5 separate regions of the Homo sapiens genome follow, and regions 1, 2, 3 and 4 are each linked to region 5. Evidence: promoter capture Hi-C in 16 types of primary human blood cells and fetal thymus (Javierre and others, 2016). All regions are on one chromosome and are shown on one strand. The core of a region is centred on a gene start or on the middle of the fragment in contact, and the rest is flanking DNA. Distances in the headings are between cores, read along the strand shown. Region 1 has its middle 54 kb from the start of TM2D1. Region 2 overlaps LINC02778 (long intergenic non-protein coding RNA 2778). Region 3 holds the start of PATJ (PATJ crumbs cell polarity complex component). Region 4 holds the start of TM2D1 (TM2 domain containing 1). Region 5 holds the start of NFIA-AS2 (NFIA antisense RNA 2).

Region 1 (4,256 bases), core at 1,506-4,005, 700 kb after region 5:
CAGCCAAGCCGAGGCTTAGTTTCAGTCAACCAGATAGCTGTTCAATGAGCATTTACTGACAATCCCTGTGCTAAGCATCTGGAATAGAGAAATCCAGCAAAAGGGCACCTCAAGGCACCAACTGTTTAGTGAGGGAGACAAATGAGTAAAAAGACCTCCACACCAGCTTCAAAGTAGTGTTTACCGCTAGGGAGGGAAGGTAGAGAAAGGATTGGGAGGAGTGAAACTTTACTTATGTCTATAAGCTTGTATTTCTTCAGAGAAATAAGAGAAATCTGAAATAAATATGGCAAATTACTAACATATATTTAATCTCAGTGCTGAGTAGACAGGTGTCTGTTACAACATGCCTCTTCATTTTAGCTTTGCTTTTGGGGTCAGGCACGGTGGCTCACACCTGTAATACCAGCACTTTGGGAGGCTGAGGCAGGTGGATCACCTGAGGGCAGGAGTTCGAGACTAGCCTGGCCAACACGGGGAAACCCCGTCTCTACTAAAAATACAAAAATTAGCTGGGCCTGGTAGCATGCACCTGCAGTCCTAGCTACTCAGGAGGCTGAGGCAGGAGAATCACTTGAACCAGGGAGGCAGAGGCTGCAACGAGCCGAGATTGCACCACTGCACTCCAGCCTGGGCGACAGAGCAAGACTCCATCTCAAAATAAATAAATAAATAAGTGTAGTTATTGCTTTTAAAAGAGATTATCATAATATCTAACCAGTGCCATGCTAGCGGGAAGCACAGGATACTAACAAAGGACTGGAGAGGCAGCTAACCCAATTTAAAGAGGAACTGGACACAGCCATAAAAAGGAATGAAATCATGTCCTTTGCGCAACATGGAAGCAGCTGGAGGCCATTATCCTAAGTGCATTAACACAGGAACAGAAAATCAAATACCACATGTTCTCACTTATGAGTGGGAGCTAAACTTCAGGTACTCGTGGACATAAAGATGGCAAGAATGGACACTGGGAACTACTAGAGTGGGGAGGGAGAGGAGGGCAAGGGTGGAAAAACTACCTATTGAGTACTATGCTCACTTCCTGGATGACAGATCAATTGCACCCAGACCTCAGCATCATGCAATATACTCATGTAACAAACCTGCACATGTACCCCTGAATCAGAAATAAAAGTTGAAATTATAAAGTTTAAAAAAAAAGGAACTAGAAAAAGCAAGGAAACAGATTCTCCCCTACAGCCTCCGGAAGGACAGAGCCCTGCTGATACTTTTGTTTTAGCCCACTGAGACCAGATTTGGACTTCTAACCTCCGACCACATCTTCAAGAACCTGAAGGAAATCCTTCCAAGGAGGTGAGCAGAGCAGTTTCAGAACAAGCAGCAGCAGTAAGCAAAATTCTCAGGCTAAAAGAGACCAGGGCACATTCCAGTCATCTCAAGGGGTCAGCAGACCAAGTACTCACTGTGAGGGGACAGGGCAGGGTGGCTGGGACTCAATCAGGATAAACCTTTTAAGCCAGAAAAAGGAATCTGGATTTTATCTTAAATGACATAGGTAGCTTCTTGAGGGTTTTAAGCAAGAGACAGAGATGATCGCTTTCTTTTCGGAACCATCAGTCTGGTATGGTAGGAGTAGGAAGGGTGACGGAGAGGAAGGTGGAGCTCTGGCCAGGTAACCAAGGCAGGAGTTTATCAGAGGATCCTAGATGAGAGATATTCAGGAGCCTGAAATAGCAGGGTTGCAATGAGGATGAAGTAATGATTTCAGAGTATTTATGAGGTGGAATTAAAGGTTTGGTGATCCACCCAAGGAAGGGAGAAAATGGCATCAAAGATAACTTCTGGGCTTCTTTCTTGGTGGACGTGCTGCTATTTCCCCTGTCATAATGAATAAGGGGGAAATAAGTTTAAAAATGAGGATGAGTTTTCAACCACTGGTGCTGGGACAACTGGATATCCACATAGAAAAAGTGAATTTACATGCAGACTTTACACCCTCCACGATAATTAACTCAAAATGAATCACAAACCTAAATGTGAGACACAAAGCTATAAAACTCCTAGAAGAAAACATAGGAGAAAATCTAGATGCTCTTGGGTCTGGTAATGACTTTTTAGATACAACACCAAAGGCACCATTCATGAAAGACATAATTCATAAGCTGGACATCATTAAAATTCAAAATATCTGCTCTGCAAAGGTTACTGCCAAGAGAATGAAAAGACAAACCACAGACTGGGGGAAAATATTTGCAAAAGACATATTTGATAAAGAACTGTTACACAAAATATACAAAAAAACCTTTTAAACTCAACAACAAGAAAATAGGGGCCAGGCGCAGTGGCTCATGCCTGTAATCCCAGCACTTTGGGAGGCCAAGGCAGGGGAATCTCTTGAGGCCAGTTTGAAACCAGCCTGGGCAACATAGTGAGACCCCTTCTCTACAAGAAAATAAAAAATTTAGGCCAGGCGCGGTGGCTCATGCCTGTAATCCCAGCACTTTGGGAGGCCAAGGCGGGTGGATCCCGAGGTCAAGAGCTCAAGACCAGCCTGGCCAGGATGGTGAAACCCCATCTCTACTAAAAATACAAAAATTAGCTGGGCGTGGTGGCAGGTGCCTGTAATCCTAGCTACTCAGGAGGCTGAGGCAGAGAATTGCTTGAACCTGGGAGGCAGAGGTTGCAGTGAGCCGAGATTGTGCCACTGCACTCTAGCCTGGGCGAAAGAACGAGACTCCGTCTCAAAAAAAAAAAACGAAAGAAAAAGAAAAGAGAAAAAATTAGCTAGGCACAGTGGCTCATGCCTGTAGTCCTAGCTATTTGGGAGTGTGAGGTGGGAGGATTGCTTGGATTGCTTGAGCCCAGGGGCTGGAGTTTACAGTGAACTATGATCATGCCACTGCACTCCAGCCTGGACAATAGAGTGAAACCCTACCTCTAAAAAATATAAAAATCAGAAAACGTGAATAAAAAATGGGCCAAAGACCATAATAGACATCTTACCAAAGAAGTATACAGATGACATACAGGCATACGAAAAGATGCTCTACATCATATGTAATCAGCGAAACGCAAATTAAAATGACCATGAGATACCCCTACATGCCTGTGAGAATAGCCAAAATCCAGCACACTGACACCACCAAATTCTGGAGAGGATGTGTAGCAACAGGAACTCTCATTCATTGCTCATGGGAATGCAAAATGGTACAGATATTCTGGAAGACAGATTGGCAGTTTCTTACAAAACTAAACTTGTTCTTACCATATGATTCAGCAATCACACTCCTTGGTATTTACTCAAAGGAGTTGAAAATTTATGTCCACACAAAAACCTGCACATAGACGTCTATAGCAGCTTTATTCATAATTGCCAAAACTTGGAAGCAACCAAGATGTCCTTCAGTAGGTGAATGGAAAATAAACTGTGGTACATCCAGTCAGTGAAGTATTATTCAGTGATAAAGGGAACTGAGTTGTCAAGCTGTGAAAAGACATGAAAGAAACTTAAATGCATATTACTAAGTGAAAGGAGCCAGTCTGAAAAGCCTACATACTATATGATTCCAACTGTATAACATTCTTGAAAAGCCAAACTATGGAGATAGTAAAAAAATCAGTGATTGCCAGGAGTGGGGGTGGGGAGGGATGAATAAGCAGAGCACAGAGGATGTTAAGGGCAATGAAACTATTTCTATATGACACTGTAATAGTGACTCCATGTCATTATACATTTGTCCAAAACCACAGAATATACACCAAGAGTGAACCCTCATGTAAACTATGGACTCTGGGTGATAATGATGTGTCGATGTAGGCTTATCGACTGTAATAAATATACCACTGTAGTAAGGATCTTGATAGTGGTGGGAGAGGGGTATGCATGTGTGGGGATAGTGGAAAATCTTTGTACTTTCTACTAAATTTTGCTATGAACCTAAAACTGCTCTAAATAATAAAGTCTATTATTTAAGGGAAAAAAAAGCAGATGAGAACAATTTTGAAAATGTTACATATAGGTCCCGAGGAAATAGAAACAGACATGTTAATGGGTAGTTTGGTATTATTACTTCATTCCCTATTGATAGATGAGGAAACAGGCTCAGAGAGATGAAGTATCTTGTCCAAGGTCACACAGCACACTAAGAGGCAGAGGGTAGAATCTGAACCAAGAAAGTTTGACTCCGTTGTCCACATAAGTGGCCATATGTGAAAGGAGGTTTTGAGGCCTATATTTGTTTCCCATCATTGCTGCTCCAGACCACCAGAAATTTAGTGCCTTAAAACAACAC
Region 2 (4,197 bases), core at 839-3,338, 810 kb before region 5:
ACTCTCACTTTCCCTCCTCATCCTTGTCGAGCAGATTATGCTTTTGTAACTGGTCACAGGTAGCAGGCCAAGAGAGACCTTCTTGAGGGACTGCTGTTTAGGGTGTTAAGAGATAAGCCAACGCGGTCTGTTGGGAAAAGCTGGGGATAGGCGCACTCCTCTACCAAGTCCAGTACAGGAGTTCCTTCAAAGAGGCTCTGCTAAGGGAGCGTAAAAGAGGGGGAAAGGAGCCATCCTTTTTGGCCACGGACTCTGTACCAGATGTTCCCTTTTAAGAGTTTCACATACATTATCACACTTAAACCTCACAGCAGCAGTTTGAGGGAGATCTGACTGCTCCCATTTTATACATAAGGACACTGAGGCTTAGAATCTTAAATGATGTGCTTAAGGTACATGCTATGGACTCGAAAGTTGAAAACTACGCCTGTATATGCCCAAAGTCCTTGGCAGTTTCTGCCAAAGGCTCTTTGTGCCACTTCATGTGAATAATAAAACACTCTGACACACCCCTCCACCCCCACCCTATGCCTCCTATCTGCCTTGGTGTTTATGTCCATTGGCTCTCATCTAAGCATTTTGCATTGGGTGCTTTTTGGTGTCTCAGTTCTTACCCTGCAACTCTACTCATTGCCTTGGCTTTGGTAACCAATATTCATTTTCTTCCAAATAAAACCTAATCTTGGCTCCAAAACTCTATTTCCTTACACTGTTGGCACACTTTGAGGAGGCACGAGCAGCCCTGAAAAAAGGTAGGGAAGCATGCTGCAGAATTTCAAGCCTCTCTCTCTATTAGTTTATTAATTTAAGATAGAATTCAGTGTTAAGAGCATGGGCTTTCGGTTCACTCAGAAGTGGGTTCCAAGCCAGACATTTTCATTAGATGGGTCACTCTGAACAAGTTACTCATGCGCATCAGCCTCAGTATTCTCTTCTACAAAATGGGGATAGAGATGTGCTCCAACCAGATTTATTGTTAGGGTTACGTGACATAATGTATGAAAGCACTAAGCATAGAATAGAGTGCTTAGTGAGCACTTAATAAATGGAAGCTATTATTTACGGTAAATGTTTGAAATTAAATGGTCACCATATTTATTGTAGAGTTGATAAATGAAGCTCATATCCCAGGGAAGAAATGAAACAGTATTATCATAGCATACTTATTTACCTTCCCCCAGAATGCTGAGGTCCTTTCCTACCTCTTCGTGGAAATATTCCTTGCTCTGCAATTTTTCATGTCTTGCAAGCTTCAATCAATACAATTGATTTAATGATTAATTTATTGTGTTCCTCAGTAAAAGCCCAGCATCGACTTCTTAAAATGGAATCTTATCGCATTTTAGACAAACAAAACTAATTGGCGACAATCATTTAAAGGGGAAGCACAAAACATTCTATACACACACACACAAAGTCAAAGCAAATAATGAGAAAAAAAGCTTGTATTATTTTAAGAATGCAAAAGTAGAGGATGAGTTGAAGTGTTCAGGCTTTCTGATTTGCTGAGCTCAAAAGATCATTTGGGCCAATTATGCTTATCTGTGAACTGACATTATTCATGACCTTTACATCCTGCCCTCTCTAAAACGACTTCAGGATTTTTTTTTCTGCTAGTAGTATGAGGAACAGTTGTGCTCTTCATTGCCTCATGGTTTGTTTTTATCTCAGACTAACCATGAGGCCTCCATCCTTCCCACTGGCATGTAGAAGATGTAGAGACAATCCTTGTATTGCATTTCTAGTTATGCATGTTTTAGATTGTTTCATTTCAAATGTGTGGGGTTTTTTTATTTCTACCATTTTGTTTCTCCTTGCTTCATCTTGCCCACCAAATTATAAAATGGATTACCTAGTGGAACTTCAAAGCATCTTTTTAGTTGCCTGTGTATATTTGGAACAAGGTAAGGGATAAATAAATACAGAAGTTAGGGGAAAAAAAAGTCTAGTTTCTTGTTCTCCTGTGCCACAGCCTAGTTTTGTAGTTGGCTACTTGCATAGTATTTGCCTTCTGTAGAGAGCTAATAGACTCTACCAGCAGCTCCCCACCCTGGTGGTTGGTTCTTTCTTTGCTGTCCTATCCTCTCAGGTGCCTTCCTTAGAAAGTCTGAGAAGGCTGGTGAGCCTCCAACCTGTGGGAGGTGGTTAAGGGAGGGCCTCGGGAGGCTGACTTGGCCACATGGTGTCAGTCTTGCAGCACTGATGTGAGAATTCTGGGACTTGTCTTTGGCAGCAAGAAATGTTCCATGCTTCCCCCATACAACTCTCACGTGAACCAGGATGAAATAGCATTTGTTAGAGGTTTTGTCTGCTCCAGGGGGAAGGGATAGGAGCTCTCTTTGAGATATATATATATATATATATATATATATATATATATATATATACTTTCCTAGCTGAGCTGTGTGTATGGTAACTTTTACACAATGGAAGGAACAGTAATTTTAAAAAATAATTTTCTTCACCAGGAGCCTTCTTGGCAAGATTGTCCACCCAGCACCACACTGAGTGAGCCTGCTGAGGCAGCCAAGTATCCTGGTGAAATCCTGGGCTTTGGAGCCTGACAGACCTGTGTTTGCATTCTCATTCTCCTAGCCCTGCACCCTGGCTAGCTGTGTGACCTCAAGCAATTTTTAAACTTTCTGTGCCTCAGTTTCTTCGTCTCCAAAATACCATTTATAATACCCATTTCAGAGGAATGCTGTGAGAATTAGGTTGGGTTGGCTTATAGAGCACAAGCTTACCATAGGTGCTCAGTGAATGAGAGTTATCAATAAAATGTGAGCTGCTCTCTATTTTACGTTTAAAATATATCTTCTACATTTTTTCCACAGAAACCAGTCAGAGAGGGAGAGAGAGAGAAAGCACTACAGTGGGGAGTGTGTGTGTATGTGTTTGTGTGTGTGTTGCTCAAGTGATGTGTACAGGAAGTAAAATCCTCCTAATATATTACATGTGACAGCTGCTGAACCTGTATCCTAACATCTCTTTCCCTGCCCAATAGTTCCATGACTCTCTCCTAGTGACAATGAACATTTCTACGATGCTTACTAATGACAGACAGCACAACACAGAGCATGAAACAGCCTCTCCCCAGGAACAGAGCTCAGCAACCCTATGCTCTAGCATCATCTGCACCAATTCTTTGATGTTCTCAGTGCTGGAGACAGCCTACTCAAAGGAATGCAGGGTTTGGAGTCAAGGAGTCAAGTGTAGGTAGGAATTTCAGCTCCCAGACTTAACTAGCTGTGTAAGCTTGAGTAACCATTTACTCCATCAAAGTTTCACTTTTATAATTTGTAAAAATAAGAATAATGCCACCTAATTATTAATGTTGTTTTTTATTGGGGGTTAAATAAGACAGCACAAGTGAAAGCTCTGAAGACGAAGGAAATGCCAAGTCCCTGGTAAATATTTCCTGTTCACTTTTAGATGAAGGCTCTCAGGACTGCCCAATCTGATGGAAGAAATTGCCTTCCTAGACTTGCCAGCATCTCTGGGAACTGTCTTGAACTCCATATCAGAGATATGTAGAGGAGGAAACACACAAGTTCTCTTTCAAACACATTAAGTTGGAGGTGTCTGTTGAATCGGTAGGTGGAGATGTCTTCTGGGTTGGATATACAGGTCTATAGCTTTGGAAGAACTCTGGGTGGAGATTAGGAAGTCGTCTGAATTGAATGAATTTCACTCAAGCAAATAACTTTCTTCCAGGTATTCCCAGTCCCACTTCCCTTCGTCAACTCAATTTAACACATGCCGACTGTTAGGCCCTATTTTCTTTCAGAGAATCTTAGGCTAGCTGGAAATACTGTTCTTCCACTTGGCTCATCCACTCTTGCTTGGACTCCTTCCATTCCTGCCCAGGTATTACAGAATATAGAATCCACGTGGAACTATGAAATTCTGTTTTCTAAGCCATGGCTTCCTACCTTATAAAATTCAGTGTTTCAGATTGATAGTCTCTAGGTTGACCTATGATATGACACTGTTGTAGAATCCTAGAGGGTTGCTGATTACCAGTAACAAACATCCTCTTTTAAGTATTGGAAACTGAGGCCCAGAAGAGCATCTAAGTGATTTTCTCCATCACTGCGAAACTCAGAGCCATCACATCAGTCTGCCTCCTTACTTATAATGTGGTAGGTTATGATCTAGATGGTAGTTCAATTACTTAAGGGGTCAAGGATTAAAGTG
Region 3 (4,201 bases), core at 1-2,500, 770 kb after region 5:
GTCTCTCTCTGTCACCCAGGCTGGAGTGCAGTGGCAGGATCTTGGCTCACTGCAACCTCTGCCTCCTGGGTTCAAGTGATTCTCCTGCCTCAGCCTCCTGCGTAGAGGGGACTACGCATCCACCACACCCGGCTAATTTTTGTATTTGTAGTAGAGACGGGGTTTCATCATATTGGTCAGGCTGGTCTCGAACTCCTGACCTCGGGTGATCCACCCGCCTCGGCCTTCCAAAGTACTGGGATTACAAGCGTGAGCCACCGCGCCCCGCCTGAAAGTCTTTATGTTGTAGTTGTTTTGTATCTATTCCTCATCTTCCTGGGGACAGGGATACCATTTTACACATCTTCCCACAATCAATCACAGTGTTTAACAATTACTGTATGTACTCTATGAATAAGATACCTGAAGATTGATTCTCTTTATCGTTAATGTGTGGACTGTATCAGGCAAAGTAAAACCCCTATCATCAAAAGCCTAAAGTTATTAAAGGGAGTGGAAGAAGGCTATCGGGACATATTTTTCTCGAAGGTGTGACATCACAAATAAAAGAAAATTAACGTATAGTGAAATCATCACTGTAGTTAGAGTCAAAATGCCTTGCCTGTGTTCCAAACTTTGGGCCAGTCAACCTACAGGGTGCACGGTTTCCTCATTAGTTTCTTCAGAGAGTAAATGAGACATTGCATAAGCTAGCACCTAGCATACAGCAGGCAAATACTGCTGGATTTCTTTCTTCCACTAAATGAGAAGAAAATAATGACTCCCACATTTACACGTTTTAGAATATTTTATTTTGCGTCAGCGAATAGAGAAAACAAAGGAGGGATGAGAGAACAGGAAAGGAAAGGGGCAAAAAGACAAAGTGTTAAGCGGATTGACCCAACGCTTTCATCGATATCCTCCTCAATTTCCTTGATCTTGGGTCTCGCTCTACACGCAGGCCTCCAACCACACCGGTCTGTCCGGATCTCCCTCCCCGTCAGTGGCGGCTGTCCCCACCACGCGCGGTCTGATCCGCCACCCCGCCCCCACAGCCCACTTTTCCCAGGCCCTTGGCCATCCCGCGCCCGGTAGGAATTCACCTGCACGTAAACAGCCAGGGCAACCGTCCTCCCTCCTTGGAGCCCGCCTCCCGCGGCCCCGGGCTCCCTCCCCCGCCCCCTGCGCCACCCCGGTGCCCCGCCCCGGGCGGGGAGAGTCGGGGCGAGGGGAGGGCCTGCCAGGTGAGGCGCGGTCACCCTGGGCCTCTCACTTCCGCCCAGGTGAGGCAGGGCCGACACCGAGCCCGCCCGACCCGGGCTCCCACCTGCTCCTCCAGCGCACCAGGTAAAGCGTGAGGTCCCGGCTGTGCAGTGCGCGCTCGCCCCTGGGTGTCCCCGCGCCTGGAGGCCGGCCGGGGGCAGCTCCCTCGGGGCTTCCCGGGCCTGCCTGCCCTGCCCCCGCGCTCTCCCCGCCCGCCCGCCTGGAGTGGGTGGGAGCCGGAGGTGGAGGGCGCCGCCGGGCGCTCAGAGGGGCCGCGGCGAGGATGGGGCGCCCGCGGCGTGCGTCCGCGCTGACCCGGGAGGCGGGGCGGGGGCGCCGTCCTCCTGCGTCGGGCCCGGGTGACCCCACGGTGGTCCCCGCCCCGCCGCGCAGGGCTCGCCGAGGCCGCGGGCAGGGAGGGGCGCCGCCCCGCCTCCCCAGGCCTTTCGGGCCTCGAATCTCGGCCCACTGGTATTCGGGGGTGGCACGGATCCTATTTTGCGCCCAGATCGGTGCCCCTGTTTCGCTCCCAGAGCTGGGCGGAGTCTTTCCCTCCATCGGTGGCCGTGGAAGGAGGGAACGGGGTGAGGGGACAAAGAGGAGGGGGTGCTCAGAGCCGGGCTGAGGGGGCGACTTGGGCCCGGCCGCGTCGCGGCGCCTGGTCATCCCGTAGCGGAGGTTCCCAAGCCAGCGGTCAGGCCCTGGGCTCTGCCAGCCTTGCTGCGTAGATGGGGAGGTTCTGTCGGAAAGTGCTTCCAGCCTTAGGGGAAATTCCTGGACTCCTGCTTTTAAATCAAGCTCAGGAAAGCATTTTCAGATCACTCCCACTCTCCAAAGCGCCCCAGCCGTCCCGCACGCAGGCCGAATTAAGTGAACACCCCTTCACTTGGCACTTTGTCATATTTCCAAGTGGCTCTTGTCACTTTGAATTCCAGTTGGTTGTTTACTGGCTTGCCTCTGCCATTTAGAGGGTGCCCCTTTCAGGGCCTTATTTTTCGACTGCATTTAGGGTCTGGCTATTGGTAGGTGCGCGACAAGTGTTTCTTAAAGGAAGGCAGAAGCCTTTGGAAACCCAGAAGGACAATGTCGGTTCCACTGAGGATGATACTACCACATTCTGGGCTAAATTCCTATTGGCTGCAAATTAATTTGCACACATCTATTTGAAAGGAGTGGAGGCAGGGGCAGCGGTTAAAAACTTAAATCTGTTTGCAGCATTAGAAAATGTTAGGTGAGATTGAGCCTTTTAGCTAAAGTGAGCTTTGATGTTTTTAGGGCCCCTAATGGCCTTTAAGATGTTAACAATAACAACAACAACAAAACACTCCAAATGTGTTGAATTTATTTGGGAATGAGAAATGAGCGTTATAGCCCGAGGTGCACAGGCCTGGCAAGCCATATATGCATGGAAGAGGGGAGGGTAAAAGGAAACTTTTATTGGCAAAGTAAGTGCAGATAAGCTGCGTGAAAACAGAGTTTATTGGTTTTGCAGACTGAAAGCCAGAGTTGGCCATTGTTGAAGATGCCATTACTGGGCAGGTGTTATGGAGAGCATCTTATCAGGCCTGGCAACCTGCCTCATGCCTGTTATCTCAGCTACTTAGGAGGCTTAGGCAGGAGGATCGCTTGAGGCCAAGAGTTGGAGACCAGCCTGAGCAACATGGCTGTCTTTACAGAAAAAGCTTTTTAAATAGTCAGGTGTGTCGGGAGGTTGAGGCAGGGGAATTGCTTGAGCCCAGGAGATGGAGGCTGTGGTGAGTGGTGTTTGCACCACTACACTCCAGCCTGGGTGACAGAGCAAGAACCCTGTCTCAAAAAAAAAAAAAAAAAAAAAAGGAAAAAAGATTATCTTATCTTATCTTATCTGAATTACTGCATTCCTAAAGAAAGAATTTCTTGGGTGGTTATTTTAGTTCCTTCTTGAGACCGATCTTTATCTCAGACTTGCAAGCATGAGCTTTCTCCCTCAGGCTCTCTAGTTTGTTTGGGTTTGACAAAAAGTGATTTTGACCTGGTATCTGCAACTTTCACAAAGATAATAACAAAGTTAATAAATATGGAAATACTTATGGATAGAACTTATAAAATGAGTTCTGAAGAGATTTGCCCTTACTAGTCCAGATCCTATTAGGAGTAAGAGAAAAAACACAAACTTTTTCCTCTGCTCTCACACCACTACAGTCAACACTGAGGACTTCTGTGACCAAATAAATGTGTGGGCCCATCAGTTCTGCATCAAGCAATAGCTGAGCATCTAACAGTTCGATTCTGAAACTATTTACCTGGGGATAGTGTCAGATCCCATAAGACTGCCCTCACTTCTGATGCCAATCACAAGTCCTAGATTGTTTTACCCCGGCTTCTGACTAACCACCTATAAATTGGGAATCCCATAACTCCCTCCTCTGGGTTGGTTAACTTGCTAGAGCAGCTCACGGAACTCAAGAAAACACTTATTTAGGTTTATTACTAGTTTATTATTAAGAATATTACAGAGGATACAAGAGGAAGAGATGCACAGGGTGAGGTATGAGAAGGGGCATGCCACCCTCCAGGAACCTCCATGTGTTCAGATATTGAGAAGCTCTCCCTACCCCATCTTCTTGGGCTTTTTATGGAGACTTCATTGAGTAGACATAATTGAAGCATGGGGTAGGGAAACCCAGCAATGCCTATCTGTTCAGATTTTTCTTGGCCTCTCTCTGTAGCATTCCTTCCTCCAGGGTATGGGCAGGACCCCTTCTTATGGGGGTCTTATGACCTACAATCAGACAAGGGAGATCAGATAATTTTTTTAAATATTTATTTATTTATTTATTTTGAGACAGAGTCTTGCTCCGCTGCCCAGGCTGGAGTGCAGTGGGTGATCTCAGCTCACTGCAACCTCCACTTCCCGGGTTCAAGTGATTGTCCTGCCTCAGACTCCTGAGTAGCTGGGATTACAGACATGTGCCACCAT
Region 4 (4,214 bases), core at 1-2,500, 750 kb after region 5:
GAGGCTGCTAGTTTGTCCAAGTCAATAAGCATATGTACAAATATACTTTTAGTATTGCTAAGTAATACTTGAGGCAGGAGGATCACTGGAGCCCAGGAGTTTGGGAAGAACAGCCTGGGCAACATAACGAGAAGTCTGTCTCTACAAATAATATAATAATACATAAACATTACAATAAACCTTTAAATTTGCCCCATAATTATCCACGTTTTTACTCATGAGAAAACAGAGTTCAAATAGGTCACCCAAGGTTGCAAAGTGCAACAGAAATTTATCCACTGAGTCCCCACGCGGTGGTTCATGGTGAGGGGGATGCGGATCGCTTGAGACCAGGAGTTCAAGACCAGCCTGGCCAACATGGCGTAAACCCCGTCTCTACTAAAAATACAAAAATTACCCGGGTGTGGTGGCGCATGCCTGTAGTCCCAGCTACTCAGGAGGCTGAGGCAGGAGAATTGACTGAACCCGGGAGGCGGAGGCTGCAGTGAGCTGAGATCGTGCCACTGTACTCCAGCCAGGGCGACAGAGTAAGACCCTGTCTCAAAAAAAGAAAACAGAAAGAAATTTGTCTGGCAGTCTACCATCTCATGAAGTTTGAAGATGACATGAGGTAATATGCATAATATACATAAAGTTAATGATAAATGGGCAACACATTGGCTAGATCGTTATTACTTGTCTTCCCCCTAGGAAGAGTTGGCAAACATTTCCAGGGTAAGAGACTATCCATCTTTGTATTACTAGTGTCTAGAACGGGGCCTGGCATACTTCAGGATCTACATGTTTTACTGAACAAGTAAGCACACTGATAAAAAAGAAAAAAAAAGTGGATCAGAAGAGGAAGCGCCAATGACTAGTAAAATCATAAGGAAATCACAAAGGGTGGCCTCTGGCCCTCCCATCTCCACAACTCTGTTCACCTTCAGGGATCCTTCAGTCATTAGAAGCCACAGATCAGATTATCGTTTTCACTCAGTACAGCCCTAGCCAGTCCTGACGGCAGCGACCCACCTGCGACCCCAACTCTACCTCGCCTCCATGGGGGGGTGTTCTCCACAGAGGATATTGTCCCACTTTGAGGTCCTCGCACTTAAGCGACTCCTCGCCCCCGGCGGAGGTGGCAACAGCCCCCCAGGGTCCTGTAGTGACTGAGACGAACCACAGGACACCAACGAGTCTGGCCGTCACGGCCTCCGGAGCAGACGGACCAGACGGCCAGGCGGCCGCCATCTTGGAGACCGACACTTTCTCGCCACTTCCGCTTCCGCCTCCGCCCAGGAGCGGGAGGGAGAAGGGCAACAGGGCGAGGTTCTTAAAGGGACCTCGCATAGGATAGAGGCCAGTTCCGTCTCTTCGCGTGTTCTTCTGCCCGTGAGCCCGTGGAATCACATTGGGAGACCCTTTTAAAATATGCATGTACCCAGTCCCTCGAGGCGAATTTTCCCCCACGAACCCTTGGAAGGAGCTAAGGTTAATCTTTGAGTGCTGGAGGAAGGAAACGAGTGGTTTAGGCAATCAGGTGCTTCACCCGCTTCTCATTCCCGCGCCCTTAGCTGAGGCTTCTCGGTCCTCTGAAAGTGCCAGCGGCGTCAGAGGTTGGAATCAATGCTTTCCTGACATCATCGCAGTTAGCCCTGATAGGTTTTGGGTTTACAGATAAGGAACAAGGCTCAAAGACGCTGAAACACACTGACCTTAATCACTAAGTGACTCAGTCGGAATGAAATTGATGTTTGCCAGATTTCAGATCTATGCTCTTACTAATTGACATAATGTCCTCCTGTAACTTTAGAGAAGGATTTTGGAAGGCTGCCACGAACAGAACTTAAAAACTGTGAGAGACATTACGCCTTTTAAAAAAAAAAAGTGACAATTTAGGTGGGGGATAATTTGGGGGGTGGAAACTGTAACAAGAGGAAACCAAATAGTTTATGATTAAGTGAAAAGTTGAAGATTTTTTTTCCTCCATCTGTTGTTTTTAAATTTCTATATGTTCTAAAAGTTCTGTGGTGGGGAACTTTAACAGTGAGGAAAAAATGTTTTCGTAAAGTTAAGTTTAATCTTTTTTTTGTCTAACAATATAAAAATTTGAACTTGAGTGGTGCTTCTTCATCCATACTTTAGCACTAACTTTGGTGGTTCTCAAACTTTGAATAGCATCTGAATCACCTGTAGTAGTTATTAAAACAGAATGATAGAACCGGCACTCAGAGTTTCTGATACAAAAGATGTAGGGAGGGACTGGATAATTTCCATTTCTAGGAGATCCCAAGGGATGTGGGTGTTGCTAGTCCAGGGACCCCCACTTTGAGAACACTGGTATAATGTTTTACGAGAAGTAAATTTTTTTTTTTAAGATGGAATCTCTCTCTGCCACCCAGGCTGGAGTACAGTGGCAGAATCTCAGCTCACTGCAACCTCTGCCTTCTGGTTCAAGTGATTCGCCTGCCTCAACCTCCTGAGTAGCTGGGACTGCACGCGTGCGCCACCACGCTCAGCTAATTTTTGTATTTTTAGTAAAGACAGGGTTTCACCATTTTGGCCAGGCTGGTCTCGAACTCCTGGCCTAAGTGATCTGCCCGCCTCTGCCTCCTAAAGTGCTGGGATTTCAGGTGTGAGGCCACACTGTGCCTGGCCTCATTTTGGAATATATATTCTGGAAGACATACAACTATTTGAAGTAATATTTAAACATAAACTACGTTTTTAAATTTTCTTTTTTTGAGGTGGAGTTTCACTGTTGTTGCCCAGGCTGGACTGCAATGGCATGATCTCGGCTCACTGCAACCTCCGCCTCCCAGGTTCAAGCTATTCTCCTGTCTCAGCATCCGGAAAGGCTGGGATTACGGCGCCCACTACCAGCCCAGCTAATTTTTGTATTTTTAGTAGAGACGAGGTTTCACCATGTTGAGCAGGCTGGTCTCGAACTCATGACTTAAGGTGATCCACCCGCCTCTGCCTCCCAAAGTGCTGGGATTACAGGCGCGAGCCACGGCGCCTGGCCCTAAAATTTTCATAATAAAACAACTTTGTAGCATTACTATGCTTTATTCATTCATTCATTTAGAGACAGAAATGGAGTTGAGACGGGAGTTTTGCTCTTGTTGCCCAGGCTGGAGTGCAATGGCACGATTCTCGCTTACTGCAAACTCCACTTCCCAGGTTCAAGCTATTCTCCTACCTCAGCCTCCTGAGTAGCTGGAATTACAGCCATGAGTCACCACGCCTGGCTAATTTTGTATTTTTAGTAGAGACGGGGTTTCTCCATGTTGATCAGGCTAGTCTCCAACTTCCGACCTCAGGTGATCCACCCGTCTGAGCCTCCCAAAGGTCTGGGATTACAGGCATGAACCACCACGCCCCGCTGCTATTTTTTGAGATGGAGTCTCGCTCTGTCATCCAGGCTGGAGTGCAGTGGCACGATCTTGGCTCACTGCAACCTCTGCCTCCCGGGGTCAAGCAATTCTCCTGCCTCAGCCTCCTGAGTAGCTGGGATTACAGGCGCACGCCACCACGCGCAGCTAATTTTTGTATTTTTTAGTAGAGACAGGATTTCACCATGTTGGTCAGGCTAGTCTCGAACTCCTGACCTCGTGATCCGCCCGCCTTGGCTTCCCAAAGTGCTGGAATACAGGCGTGAGCCACCGCGCCCCGCCGCTATTTTTAATTTAAGACATTTATACATAATATTTATGCTTTAAATCAGGTTTAAATGATTTAAGTGAAAAATTTAGTAGTTCAGTTATAAACTTCCTATTCTAAATGGACTTCTTCCTTCTCTCTTTTTTCTTCCTTCGTTTTTCCTTTCTTTCCTTTTTTTCCGTCCTCCCTCTCCCTCCAAAAAGGAAAAAAAAATTGTTTTTAATTGAGCATTTACTATGTACTCAGCATGAAGCTAGACCCTAGACTCAAAAATTTAGACAAAAACCCTGCAGGTAAGCACTTCCTGTTTGGTAAGGGAAAATACAAACAGTTAAATACTATTTGATAAGTGTTTGATAATTGTTACATTAGAAGCACATACTAGCTACTGTAGTAGGACAATGGGTTTGCTTAAGATATTCCTCCTGTGCCTGGCGTGGTGGCTCAAGCCTGTAATCCTAGCACTTTGGAAGGCCAAGGAAGGCAGATGGCTTGAACAAAAAAAAGAAAAGAAAAAGAAACATTTAAAAAAGATTCTCCCAAAATAGTAGTTGAAACGCTATATTTTTGTA
Region 5 (4,309 bases), core at 1,594-4,093:
GAATTAATACCTTAATATAGGTATATACGAGATACGGAGGGAAGAGAGAGGAGGGAACTTCCCAGCCTGCCTGTGGTGAGGGTCAGTTAGCAAAGGAAAGTTTTGTCAAGGAAATGACCCTTTGCTGAGTGTGGAAGAAAAGGGAACATCTCAGGAGAAAGAAGGGGGAAGCCACAGCACTCTAGGCAGGAAGATAACAAAGATTCTCAAAGGGAGAGACAGGGTGCATGTGGGCAGAGGGTGGGGGACAAGGCAGGGGCGGAGGCATAGGGAGCCTCTGCCAGTTTTCTCAGGGAAATGGGAGGTGAGGTTGACAGACAAGGAGGGGAGGTGGTGTGGTTTGGGGAACTGAAAAGGCAAGATAGGCTCTGGAAGGCTTCTCTGGGAAATGCAAGAAGATACTAATAAAGAACAAATAAAAGACAGTTCCAAAGTAGAAACCACAAATTTTTATGTGGCATTAACTACACATCATAATGCAAAATACTCCAAAAATACTTAGTGCTCTGGGCATGAGAGTAGAGAAAGTGGAGAGAACACATCATTGGACAGACAGAGCATGTGCGTGTGCAAGGGAAGGGGAGGGGTGCCATGAAGAGTTCAAATGCAAGTGTGTGGAGTCTGTCCTGCCTGATGGACTGAGAGAAAGTGGATCAAGGAGTTGGAGCTGGAATGGCAAATAGTTTTCATCTCACGCATCAACTCCAGTTGATGGAACCTGTGCTGAGAAGGATCCCAAAGCAACCTCTGGGTTTAATAGGAGAGTGGCATGATCAGTCTGTGAGGTTCTCAATGAGCTGGAAAGAGTGGCAACAATCACACCAGGCATTGGCCATCTCTGGACCAGAGGCCAGACAAGGCTGTGAGAAGAGAGAGGAGTAAGAGAAGTAGCAGGACAGGGGGCTGTGGCCAGAGTGAGATGTTGGAAGGTGAGGTTTCGTGAAGACATCAAGGCCTAGAACATGGCTAGGGAAAAGTTTGGCTGACTGAAGAACAAGGCACAATCTAGTGTTCAAATACCTTCATGCTGCTGCTCTTGCCTCACTGAAGAGGTAAAGTGTCTTCAGAAGACATGTGACATAAGGGAATGGTGGATGGTTGAAGAAACACTTGGCTGTTCTAATGTAAACAGAAGAAGGAGTGGGAAGCTCTCATTTCTCCATCATTATCAGGCTCTGTTCTCAGGAAGCCAGAGAAACCTATGGCATGCTGCCTATGCAGGCCTCCTCCAGACCCATGGCTCAGACAGACCCGCCTGAACTCCAGCAGAGAAACAAGCCCCTGACCATTCCCTTCATCAGGGCAGGCAGGATGCAAGCCAACAGCTTCTCCTCCAGTGAGCCAATCCCATTACTTTTTTCCTTTTTAACTTTGTAAGAACACGTAACATGAGGGCCACCTTCTTAGCAAAATTTTAAGCACACAATACAGTATTATTGACCATAGGTAAAGCGTTGTACAGCAGATCTCTAGAACTCACTCATCTTGCTTAACTAAAACTGTATGTCCATTGATTAACAACTGTTCATTTCTCACTCCACCTAGCTCCTGGCAACCACCATTGCACTCTTTGATTCTACGAATTTGGCAATTTTAGATACCCCACATAAGTGGAATCATGCAGTTTCGTCTTTCTCTGAGTGGTTTATTTCATTTAGTATAATGTCCTCAAGATTCATCCATGTTGTCACATATTTTAGAGTTTCTTTTTTAAGGCTAAGTAATATTCTGGGATGTGTGTGTATGTGTGTGTGTGTTCCACATTTTCTTTATCCATTGATCTGTTGTTGGATATTTAGTTCATTTCTACATCTTGGCTATTGTGTATAGTGCTGCAATGAACATGGGAGTACTAATATCTCTTCAAGATCCTCATTTCAATTCTTTTGGATAAATACCCTGTGGGACTGCTGGATCATATGGTAATTCTATTTTTAATTTTTTGAGGAACCTCCATACTGTTTTCCATAGCAGCTGCACCATTTGGCATTCCCACCAACAGCATGCAGGGTTCCAACTTTCCCACATCCTTGCCTGAATCTCTTTTTGGATTCCGGAGTGACAGTGTCTCAGGATCTTGGCGGGGAAGGACCATCACCTCCTCATAATCCGTGCCACTCTGGAGGGCTGAGCACACAGTTCTCCTTGTTTCCCTGTTTGCCAGCTTGCCTTGTGGATAAATGCAGAGAAGGATTCAGGATTGGAGGGAAGGGTGAATTCACGGCCCTACAGAGCATGTCTAAAAGCATTTGTCAAAAAAAGAGTTAATGACTGCTTCTCTGCGGGAAGCCCTAAAGAAATGAGTGTCCTGAAGTGTAGAACATTCGCTTTTACGGTAGGTGGTGTTATTGTTACATGTTCATACAGACAGTGCTAATTAACAATCCTAAAGGCCACATCATTAAATTATTTCTCCGCTAAAAACCCTATGATGTTTAATGCGTCCCAGCAATTCAATTATATCTAAAACACTGGCCTGAACGGCAGGCACTATTCTGTGGCTGACAAAGTGCAAGTTGCTCTTAAGAACAGGTGAAGCTTAACAAGGAAAGAACAACATCTGACAAACTACCTCCCTGCTCTTCTCCCTAACATACACCCTAAGAATAAAAACAACAGTGATATTCCAAGAAAATTAACGTGGGTCTTACCTTTGCTAGGCTGGCGATGAAATATAGGCTTTACCAAATTTTCTGTGAAGAATCTGACAAGATTTTCTTAAAAGATTTCACCCAAAATAATCAAATCAGTGCCCTCAGATCTATTTAAGGTCCATCGGGTTTCACTGTTTTTTCTCTGGATCCTACCACCCATCCTTTGTCATTTCTAACCACTGCAAATTGCATTTTGGGTTTGAACTTGGGGTGACTTCATGGCTTTGGTCTGGGTTTTTCCTGGATGTGTATCACAGTCAGCAGAGAGCACTTTGAAGAGCACACAAAGCCTCTTTGTCTCCCACTCAGTGAAATATCTCAAGTACAGAGCACAGTGAAAAAGGGCTTCTTTCCAGCTTAAACACACACACACACACACACACACACACACACACACACACACACACACAAAAGAAGCTCTTGCCCTTCCCTGCCGCCCCCAGCTGCTGTGGTGAGACAGTCTCTGCACAGGCACAGGGCCCAGTGCAACTGGCCAAGTGGCCTCAGTCCTCTGGACAAGGCTTGGCAGGCAGCACCATGACAGAACCTCCTGCTTGGAAGGTGTTGGTGCCGAGACTGCATCTGGGAGCAGCACATATGTGATTCCACTAGTTTTTACACAAAGAGGCAGACTATGCCAGTGGCCAGCTGGCCAGCTGGGCACTCATCTGCAACCTTAGAAGCAGGAGTCAGGGAGCAACCCACTGATCCTCTTGTCATGGTCTTCCCAAGTGCCCAGTTTCCACATAAACCATTTCCTCATCACTCTCCTCCCTAACACTATCCCAACAGTACCCTCAAGGAGGCCCCACTCAGCTCTATGAGGACAGGGGGCTATGTATCTCCTTAGCTCCATACCACCAAGCACACTGCCTTACATGGAACACACTCTCAGTAAAGGTTTCTTGGATGGAAAGATGAATGAACAGATAGACAGATGGATGATGGGTGGGTGGATAAGTGTGTGCATGGATGGGTGTGTGCAGGGATGGGTGGGTGGATGGATGGGTGGGTGGATAGAAGAATCTTATAAACCATTGTTCGGATCCTGGCTCAAACATTTTCTTTTTGTGAGATCTTGGGAAAATTACCAAAACTAAGATACTACAAAACTAAGCCTTTTGGTTTTTTATCTGTACAAAGAATGATAGCAGTTACGGTGGAGATTGAGAAAATTCAGTAAGCACCTGATAGTAGGTGCTCTGTACACATTCATGGTTTTTACCCAGGAACTGTTTATAGATTATCAAGTCCCTTGCTTCTGTAGGAGGTCTTTCCTATCACTGTCGAATTCATTGCTCACTTGCATCTCTCCCAAAGGGATGGCAGAGGAAAGGTAGTAAAGGGTGCTTAGAGTGGAGTGAGGACTACAAGAGGGAGCACCAGTATTGACTGGGGATGCAGGGTTTCTAATTTTTCTAGCCCAGAAAAATTCAGACAGGCATGGTTTGGAGGAGACCTGGGTTCCAGTCAAGGCCCTGTCCCCAACTAGCTGGATAAACATGGCATGATCACCTCTCCCTTGTGGTCCTAGATTTCTTCTATGAGATAAACTCATATGATTGCATGAATGCTGAAGTCTCTTCAACTCCCAACTCTGTGATTCTATCCTTCGAGATCCACTTAACATCTTCTTACCTCCTCATTGAAGCCTG

The links. The method cuts DNA at HindIII sites, captures the fragments that hold promoters and counts their contacts. A CHiCAGO score of 5 or more calls a contact.
Region 1: a fragment that was not itself captured here is called in contact with the fragment with the promoter of NFIA-AS2 in region 5 in 1 of 17 cell types (monocytes); the score reaches 5.4 in monocytes.
Region 2: a contact is called between a fragment that was not itself captured here and the fragment with the promoter of NFIA-AS2 in region 5, in 1 of 17 cell types (endothelial precursors). The highest score is 6.6, in endothelial precursors.
Region 3: a contact is called between the fragment with the promoter of PATJ here and the fragment with the promoter of NFIA-AS2 in region 5, in 10 of 17 cell types (M1 macrophages, erythroblasts, monocytes and 7 more). The highest score is 13.8, in M1 macrophages.
Region 4: the fragment with the promoter of TM2D1 here is called in contact with the fragment with the promoter of NFIA-AS2 in region 5 in 7 of 17 cell types (erythroblasts, monocytes, M0 macrophages and 4 more); the score reaches 10.3 in erythroblasts.

The regions. Positions count from the first base shown.
Region 1 is chr1:61,669,397-61,673,652 of GRCh38, forward strand. No RefSeq gene overlaps it. Among named protein-coding and RNA genes, the nearest start is that of TM2D1, 54 kb to the right of the region's middle. The HindIII fragment of the contact is 5,025 bases long and covers 244-4,256 here.
Region 2 is chr1:60,154,883-60,159,079 of GRCh38, forward strand. The region is part of intron 1 of LINC02778 (long intergenic non-protein coding RNA 2778); the gene reads left to right. It overlaps LOC107984963 (a long non-coding RNA gene), which reads left to right. Exons shown (of 3, transcript XR_001738092.1): 3 at 3,433-3,923. Among named protein-coding and RNA genes, the nearest start is that of LINC02778, 42 kb to the left of the region's middle. The HindIII fragment of the contact is 1,297 bases long and covers 1,441-2,737 here.
Region 3 is chr1:61,741,230-61,745,430 of GRCh38, forward strand. PATJ (PATJ crumbs cell polarity complex component) reads left to right here and starts at 1,251. Exons shown (of 44, transcript NM_001350145.3): 1 at 1,251-1,326. It overlaps PATJ-DT (PATJ divergent transcript), which reads right to left and starts at 1,555. Exons shown (of 1, transcript NR_185910.1): 1 at 769-1,555. RefSeq lists a silencer at 1,003-1,712. The HindIII fragment of the contact is 6,850 bases long and covers 1-2,922 here.
Region 4 is chr1:61,723,891-61,728,104 of GRCh38, forward strand. TM2D1 (TM2 domain containing 1) reads right to left here and starts at 1,251. Exons shown (of 7, transcript NM_032027.3): 1 at 1,067-1,251. The coding sequence starts at 1,230. RefSeq lists enhancers at 553-1,240, 697-1,896, 933-1,592, 1,241-1,926. The HindIII fragment of the contact is 25,050 bases long and covers 1-4,214 here.
Region 5 is chr1:60,967,897-60,972,205 of GRCh38, forward strand. NFIA-AS2 (NFIA antisense RNA 2) reads right to left here and starts at 2,844. Exons shown (of 7, transcript NR_110617.2): 1 at 2,652-2,844. The HindIII fragment of the contact is 8,221 bases long and covers 2,537-4,309 here.